Linked DNA regions of Homo sapiens: region 1 is linked to region 2. Evidence: promoter capture Hi-C in human tissues and cell types (Jung and others, 2019). All regions are on one chromosome and are shown on one strand. The core of a region is centred on a gene start or on the middle of the fragment in contact, and the rest is flanking DNA. Distances in the headings are between cores, read along the strand shown. Region 1 overlaps STAT5A (signal transducer and activator of transcription 5A). Region 2 holds the start of MLX (MAX dimerization protein MLX).

The links. Contacts are between HindIII fragments. The study calls those that stand out against the background at their distance.
Region 1: a contact is called between a fragment that was not itself captured here and the fragment with the promoter of MLX in region 2, in 1 of the 25 tissues and cell types used here (IMR-90 fibroblasts).

The regions. Positions count from the first base shown.
Region 1 is chr17:42,304,606-42,308,791 of GRCh38, reverse strand. It overlaps STAT5A (signal transducer and activator of transcription 5A), which reads right to left. Exons shown (of 19, transcript NM_001288718.2): 11 at 4,140-4,186; 12 at 3,090-3,182; 13 at 2,345-2,551; 14 at 1,296-1,390; 15 at 1,069-1,199; 16 at 459-614. Among named protein-coding and RNA genes, the nearest start is that of STAT5A, 18 kb to the right of the region's middle. The HindIII fragment of the contact is 6,096 bases long and covers 1-4,186 here.
Region 2 is chr17:42,565,850-42,569,781 of GRCh38, reverse strand. It overlaps MLX (MAX dimerization protein MLX), which reads right to left and starts at 2,682. Exons shown (of 8, transcript NM_198204.2): 1 at 2,616-2,682; 2 at 2,127-2,163; 3 at 1,223-1,312; 4 at 839-945; 5 at 479-578; 6 at 176-275. The coding sequence starts at 2,657. It overlaps COASY (Coenzyme A synthase), which reads right to left. Exons shown (of 9, transcript NM_025233.7): 9 at 3,505-3,876. The coding sequence ends at 3,814. RefSeq lists enhancers at 1,931-2,020, 1,896-2,403, 3,161-3,210, 3,417-3,923, 3,924-3,932 and a silencer at 2,421-2,820. The HindIII fragment of the contact is 10,895 bases long and covers 1-3,932 here.

The DNA.
Region 1 (4,186 bases), core at 1,661-4,160, 260 kb after region 2:
TCAAAGAATGAGAATCAACAAGCAAACCCAACCAATGGATTTGGGGCAGCTGGAAGAAGAGAGACTTCTCCCTTTTGCTGCCTGCACTCCACTCGGGGGAAGGTTTGTGAGCAGGGTGTGGAGAGCAGCTGGTGAGGTGGGGAGCGGAGCACTATCTGTGGGCTCGAATGATCCCGGCCACTCCCTACAGTGCTGCCACCCCTTCCTCCGAGGGTGCAGAAGTGAGAATCCATGCAGCTTTCACTTTGCAGAGAAGAGAGCTGGGACGGGTTTCTCGTTCCCTCTCCTCATTTGTGAGCCCTGAAATCCTCTCCACCACCCCATGGGCCAAAACCCACAGGGGACATGGCCCCTAGGCTCCTCCTGGGGAAGTCCCCACGGCGCAGCCCAAGGCTTTGTCTATGGGCTGGGGAAGAGCCCGGGGGAGTCAGCCGGCAGGGTCCTGGGGCAGTACCCACCCAGCACAGGAGTGTAGTACTTGGAGAAGACCTCATCCTTGGGGCGGTCAGGAAACACATAGATGAGATAGCTCAGGTCCCCCAGCCGGTCAGCCAGGGACCTGATGGAGAAATCCCGCGTGGTGAATGGTTTCAGGTTCCACAGGTTGCGTTCCGCTGTGAAAAGAACAGCCTCATTCCCATAATCCACCAGCAGCAGGAGGACCAAGGTTGTGGGGCTTTAGGGCAGGCTTGCAAGAGAAATCTGGGCTTTTATATAGTAGCTTGCGCTGCAGCCCCAGCCTGTAGGGAAGAAAGCCGATGCGGGATGTTCTACTCAGCAAACCAGATGAGCAGATACCAACAAGGCTGGGTCGTGGCAGAGAGGGGAGAGCGTGAAACTGCAGGAGGACTCGCCCAGCCGTCCTGGAGTCTATGGGGCTGGGGACTTCAGGTTCTCCAAAATGGAAAACAATAGAAAGAGAATACATTTCCAAGCCACAGCCCTCTCATACTAAGCTTCCCGCTGGGTACCTTCTAAGGACACAGGCCCGATGGAGGGTGGGGTGGCGGGGCAAGGGAACAAGAGACCGGGCCTTGGGGCTGGAGTGTGGGCAAAACGGGCACTCACGGGAGTCAAACTTCCAGGCGATGGTGATGCCCCCGATTTCTGAGTCACTAAAGCGCAACAAGAAGGTCCCGTCGGGCTTGTTGATGAGCAGGTCGTGGGCCTGTTGCTTATTCACAAAACCTAGGATGGCCCTGGGTGCACGGAGCATTGAGCGTCACCACTGGGCCACAGCCACAGTCTCTCTGCGCCCACAGCTGGCCCCTGACCCTGCAGCCCCCGTTCCTTACCCATCATTCCAGTGGGGCTTGTGGTGCTTCTTCAACACCTCCATCACCCCGTCAAACCACTGCCAGAAGGTGTAGTTCCAGCCCGGCAAGTTCTCCTGAGGGCCCAGGAACCCCCGAGTCAGGGCTGGTGCCCCAGGTCACAGGTGGCCCAGGAAAGTCAGGGCCCTCCTGCCCCCACCCAGTCTTCTCCCAGTTCTTCACCCCTGCTTGCCACCACACTCCAGCAGACCATAAAGTGACACAGCCCCCAACTTGTACCCTAGGAAAACAGAGAGGAAACTCACTTCTAAGACACAGGGGTCCAAGACCAGCCCAAGGGTGGGAGTAAGAGGTGTAAAGAATAATCTAGGCTGGATGGGGCCTCCAAAGTCATTCCTCCAAAGTCATCCCCTCATTTTACAGGTGGGGAAACTGAGGCACAGAGAATGGATGGGTCTTCAAAAATTAGCAAGGAGAGAGGCAGAAGGAGAGCCAGAGCCACAGGCGTGGTGGCTCACGCCTGTAATCCCAGCACTTTGGGAGGCCGAGGTGGGCGGATCACCTGAGGTCAGGAGTTCGAGACCAGCCTGACCAACATGGTGAAACCCCATCTCTACTAAAAATACAAAAATTAGCCCAGCATGGTGGCAGGCACCTATAATTCCAGCTACTCAGGAGGCTGAGGCACGAGAATCACTTGAACCCGGGAGGCAGAGGTTACAGTAAGCTGAAATCACGCCACTGCACTCCAGCCTGGGTGACAGAATGAGATTCTGTCTCTAAAAAAAAAAAAGAAAATTAGCAAACACATCTAGGCCCAGAACCCAAGGATCCTGACTCCCAGCCCTGGGCCCTCCGTCATCTCGCTCTTGGCTTCACAACTAAGCACAACTCCTATAGCCCCTGCCTGCATTTCTTGAGGCTAGGGGCCCCCATCTCTCCTGGTTGTAGGAGAGAGTGGTTGGGGGTGGAGAGTGGGGTGCTAGCCCCAGGCAGTAACCTGTCTGTGAGGTGGAGGAGCAACAGACCCCGGTGGGCCCTGGTGGGCGGCTGGCAGCTGGGCCCCTCACCCTGTTGAACTGGGACCAGGACACGGACAGGCCACTGTAGTCCTCCAGGTGGCTGCTGCTGTTGTTGAACAGTTTCTGCGCCAGGAACACGAGGTTCTCCTTGGTCAGGCCCCGGTTGCTCTGCACTTCGGCCTTGAATTTCATGTTGAGCGCCTCACACAGCTGCGGCCACAGCACTTTGTCAGGCACGGCAAATGGCACCCTGCCCTGAGAGGGAGACAAGAGAGGGGAAAAGGTAGATTGAGGGAGTTGGAAATATTCACACACACACAAGATACACAGACACCTAGAGACAGAGGAGACTGAGACAGATCCAGAAAGGTGACACAAATGCAAGGGCAGGAAATGCGGCGGCTTTTATATACTAGCTTGCACTTTTTTTCCCAGCCTGCAGGGAAGAAAACCGATGCAGGGGGTGGGGGCATGCAGGGACAGAGATGCAGACCAGGAAACAGAAAACAGAGAGCAAGGACCCAAGCCATCTGCCAAAGGAGGATCCCAGACCAGGATCCAAAGACCAAGCTCACAGTCCTCACAGACCCCAGTCCAGGAACCTGGAACCCAGAGTGCCAAGGCCATGGTGGAAGGCAGGCGCCCAGCACCCCAGCCCTTCTGGCCTCACCTCACCTCTGGGCTGGCCCTGGGGTGAGGAAGGACCACTCAGCAGGGGCCCAAGGGGTGGGGCTGACCCCAGGTGAGTCCTAGGGCCTGGGGGTGCTGGGGTAGGGCTCCCACGGGGACTCACCGGCTCAGCAAAGGCATTGTCCCACAGCACAGTAGCCGTGGCATTGTGGTCCTGGCTGCCGTGGACGATGACAACCACAGGTAGGGACAGAGTCTACAGGAGTCAAAGGAACCCAAGTTGATGGGGCGTGACCACCACGTGCCCTCTGCTTAGGCAACATGCCCAATCTGCTTTATTTTTTTTTATGTATTTTTTTTTTTGATATGGAGTTTCACTCTTGTTGCCCAGGCTGGAGTGCAATGGTGCAATCTCGGCTCACCACAACCTCTGCCTCCCGGGTTCAAGCGATTCTCCTGCCTCAGCTTCCCAAGTAGCTGGGATTACAGGCATGTGTCACCACACCTGGCTAATTTTGTATTTTTAGTAGAGACGGGGTTTCTCCATGTTGGTCAGGTTGATCTCGAACCCCTGACCTCAGGTGATCCACCCTCCTTGGCCTCCCAAAGTGCTGGGATTACAGGCAAGACCCACCACCCATGGCCGCAATCTGCTTTATTTTCTTCGAGACAGGGTCTCGCTCGGTCGCCCAGACTGGAGGGCAGTGGTGCAATCACAGCTCACTGCAGCCTTGACCTCCTGGGCTCAAGTGATCCTCCTGCCTCAGCCTCCAGAATAGCTGGGACTACAGGTGCAGGCCACCATGCCCAACTTTTTTCTTTTTTTTGTAGATACGGGTTCTCACTATGCTGCCCAGGCTAGTCTTGAACTCCTGGACTCAAGCAGTCCTCCCTCTTCTGCCTCCCAAAATGCTGGAATTACAGGTGAGAGCCACCACACCTGGTCCCAACCCACTTTCCTCACCCACAGTTCCAAACACAAGCCCCTCCCAGCAAAATGTAGGCACAAGCAAACAAACAAAAACTACAACCGACTTCTTCTTAGCCCATTGCCTAAATTGTCTGGGTTAGTCCCAGATTATAACCTATCAAACAGGGACCCACAGAGTCAAAGCAGGCTGTCCGATGGCATTGCTGCCAGGAGTCCTGAGGCAGGCCCCTCCACCTCTTGGGTGACCTGGAGCAGTGGGGGCAGGAGGGCTGGGGGTCTCACCTTCACCTGGAACACAAGCTCATTGCTGCCAACACTGAACTGAGACT
Region 2 (3,932 bases), core at 1,433-3,932:
TTCCTGAGTGTCTGCCATGTGTAAGGACAGTTGGGGATACACAGTCCTACTGGCTAGCTCAGGAACTAAGAGTATTATCTGTACAGCAGTAACTGATGTGGCCTTTGAACAAGGGAGGGTGTGCAATGAAGTTGCCTCAGAAGTTCTGGTTCCCCCCATTCAGCACCCCTCTTACACTTTCATGATCTTTAGGGCGGTGACATCCTTGCGTAACGTGGACACCTCCTCCTCCTGCTTTTTCTTCTCCTTGTGCAAAAACTGAATGTAGTCAATGGCTAGGGTGGGGGCAAGAAAAAAAGGACAGGTACAGAAGTATTCTCAACCAAGAAGATAAGGCTGACTTTGTTCCCCTTACCCCAGACCCCAACTATCCCATGGCAATCACCACACCAAGGCCGAGCCATGGGTGGGTAGGAGGCACTGGCCTCTTCACAGCCCCGCTTGGCTCCATCCCCTCCAGTGCTTTCCCTAGCCATACTCTTTTGTAGAACGATGGCTTTGCTGAGCTTTTGGGAGCCAATGGAGAAGTCCTGCTGCTGGCAAGTGGGGACGATGGTCTGAAGGTCATCATAGCCTCTCTGTGGAAACAGCAGGGGAAATGGGTTCTTTAACCCTGAGAGATTAAAGCAAAATGGCACAAAGTTCCTCCATGACACCAAGTTCTATGCTCACAAACTCAATGGGGTGGGAAGGCTGCAAGGGAGGTGTTTGTGCCTGGGACTATACTACCTGCCCACCCCCTAGGGTGCCTGGGACTGTCTGAGTGGGTCAGGGCACAGGGAAGCTAAACTATGCAGGGCCCTCCCGCACTGGCTGAGGCACAGGCCTCCCTGTTCACCTTGATGGCGTCCCTCCTCTTCTGCTCAGCCTGAGTGTGTGCGCGCCGCCGCCGGTCTTTGTAGGACTCCTTGTAGGCCTCCTGGTGGTAATCACTGTCCTCATCATCTACGCTCAGAGATGGGGGCAGGGAAAGGTCATCTTGGGGCCCAGTGGGGTCCAGCTAGCCCACCTTTCCCCAGCTGGGAAGAACCTGGTGTCCAGAGAAGGCAGATGGACAGAACCACCTAATGTTCCAGATGAGGTGAAAGATGGTGAGACCTTGTGTCTGATACTTTGGCTCCAGCACCCCTGTGTGGATGGCTGGGGCTTCCCTGTCTAGGAAAGGTACTACAATTATGACATATCTGAGCCCCCCGAGGTCGGGGGGGATGTTACTGCCTACCTGTGTTGGGGACAGAAGAGGCACTGGTGGAACCGATGCTATTAGCTCTGGACACTACACTCCCCTTGCGGGTGCTTTCTACAAAAAGCCCTGGAAAAGAGAGGCCCCAATCACTAAGGGGTGGGGTGGGGAACATTGCCAGACCCTCAGACACCTGTAGGACACAATGGCTTTCTTTTATTTATTTATTTTTTTTTTAGACAGAGTCTCGCTCAGTCGCCCAGGCTAGAGTGCAGTGGCGCGATCTCGGCTCACTGCAAGCTCCGCCTCCCAGGTTCACGCCATTCTCCTGCCTCAGCCTCCCGAGTAGCTGGGACTACAGGCGCCCGCCACCACGCCCGGCTAATTTTTTTGTATTTTTTAGTGGAGACGGGGTTTCACCGTGTTAGCCAGGATGGTCTCGGTCTCCTGACCTCGTGATCCGCCTGCCTCGGCCTCCCAAAGTGCTGGGATTACAGGGGTGAGCCACCGCGCCCGGCCACACAATGGCTTTCTTAAATGCTGACCTCTTCCCTTCAACCCAAAGCCAACCATACTGGGCCCCCCACTTCCTGCCAGACCACGCTGCAGTGCTCTGCTCCCTAGTGTCTACACTGCTCCATAGGCCTGCATGATACCCCCCTGGCTCACAAACGGGCATGTGGACGTGATGAGGGTGTGAGTGATCAGCTGCTCCACTGAGTGGTGAGTGATCAGTTCCACCACTTCCCTGTTCCAGAGCAGAGGGAACTAGGTGTCACCCTCAGTTGTTTTCTGCCCTTGTCCTTCAGCTCCTGCTGTCTCAAGCCAGGAACTCTGCTCAGGGAGAGTGGACTGTGCTCAGGCGTGGTTGGCAACGCCACAAGAATCTAGAGAGCCTGGGCGGGAGTGTCCCTCTAGAGCTTAAGATGGGGCAGCTACTCACCGGGGTCCAGGCTGTTGTCGCTGTAGGCATACTCCACCTGCGGCACAGAGCACGGGAAGGGCCCGTCAGACCTCCGCCCCTAGGGGGAGGCGCCCCTTCCACTGCAGGCACGCACAGCGCGCCCCCCATTCCGGGAAGGCGCCTCTGTCACCCTGCGCGCTTGCACACACACAGCCCGGGGTGCGCGGGCAGCTTAATGAGTCCCCCGAGACTGGCACAGGCTAGGGCGTGCGAGTGCCTCCCCTGTGTATGATCCCTTCCGCCCCTACTCCACCCCAGTGCCCCGTTCCCCCGACTCGCGCGCACACGCCTCGTTTGTCTCCCCACCTTGGCACACGCGGGGTGAGAGCTGTCTTCTCTGCAGCCCCGGGGCACGGAGAGCGTGGGGGACTTTGGGGACAGGAGGGAAGCCCCTCGTCTTCCGGCCCCCCTACGTGCACGAGCCCGACCCGCCCTCCCCTCGCCGGCGTGCGCGCCCACGGGGCTTGCCTTGACCCAAGGGTCCTCGGGAGAGGCGCCCGGCTCCGTCATCTTGTACCCACCGGACCGGAAACGGGCCAGCGGGCGGGCCCCCTGCGGCGAGGAAGCGGGTGGCGTGCCCACGTGACCCGCGCCCGCCAATCCGCGACCGAGAGGTGGGGCAGGGCGAAGCATCGCGCATGCGCAGCCCAAAGACTTTACTCCACGGTTCCAGCCGTCAAGGCCCGGCGCTTGGCCTGGCGCCAGCCTCCTTCGAGACTGCTCCCCGCCGTGCCTGCCCTCCCCGGGTTAGGCAGTGGAATGGCGGCGACATGAAGCGCGTTTTGTAAGATGGAGTCCCCTCAATTGGCTTGTCAGCACACCGCCGCAGATAGTGTGTGCACGCGCACTGTCCGGCCGGCCGGCTCCCCACGTTACCCTGAGGGCGGCCTCCCCGCGCTCACCGGACCTGCACTGCTGGCCGGTGTGTCAGGAACCGGGCAGAGAAGCCCCCAGCCACATCGTCCGACCCCACCAGGCTGCAAGCTCTGTGAGGGCAGAGGCCCCGCCTGGCGCGCGGAAGGCTGATCTTCCAACACCCAGCCCAGTGTCTGGCAGGATGCATGTGGAATGAACCCTTGCAAAGAACCTGCTAGCTAGGTTATGCGGCCTCTCATATTAAAAACAAAACAAAAACAATAAAACACGGCAGTACCTAGAAAGTCTACACCTTACTCAGAAGAACACAGCTGGTCAGTGGGAGGGCCAAAGCTCGCCTCTGGCTAGCCTCAAAGGCCATTCTCTTAACCACTGCATTGCCCAGGCTTCCAGCTCAGGCCTGGGCCCTGCACTTGTGGCTTAAGGATCCCAAAGATACTTAGGGGCATTGGAACAGGAAGCAGACACCATACAAGCAACATCTCAGAACATTCACCTTTAATTCTGTTACAGGTTCCAGTATTTGCGCTGGCCCTAGTCAGCTGTGGGTAAGAGTCACCCATGGGCAAGAGTGGGGAGGGGACTGCTCCCCCATGAACCACATCCTCAGTGTTGGCCAAATACCAGCGTGTTGGGTAGGCTTCCTGTGTCCACCAGGCCTGGCCATGTCCTGCACAGTATAGCTTGGACCTCTGGGCCTGAACCAGGGTGAGCATCAAGGCCCCCATTTCTCCTCACCACGGGGTCGCTTGTCAGCTCCAGGAGCCAGTCTGGCCCCACTGAGAACTTTTCAGTCGAGGGCCTGATGAGTCTTGGGAATGCGCTTCTGCAAGAGGGCCCAGGCTTTCTCCACCTTCAGACAGGCCAGGATGTTGGGAGGAAGAGAGGGCAGGGTCAGGCAGTACCCAC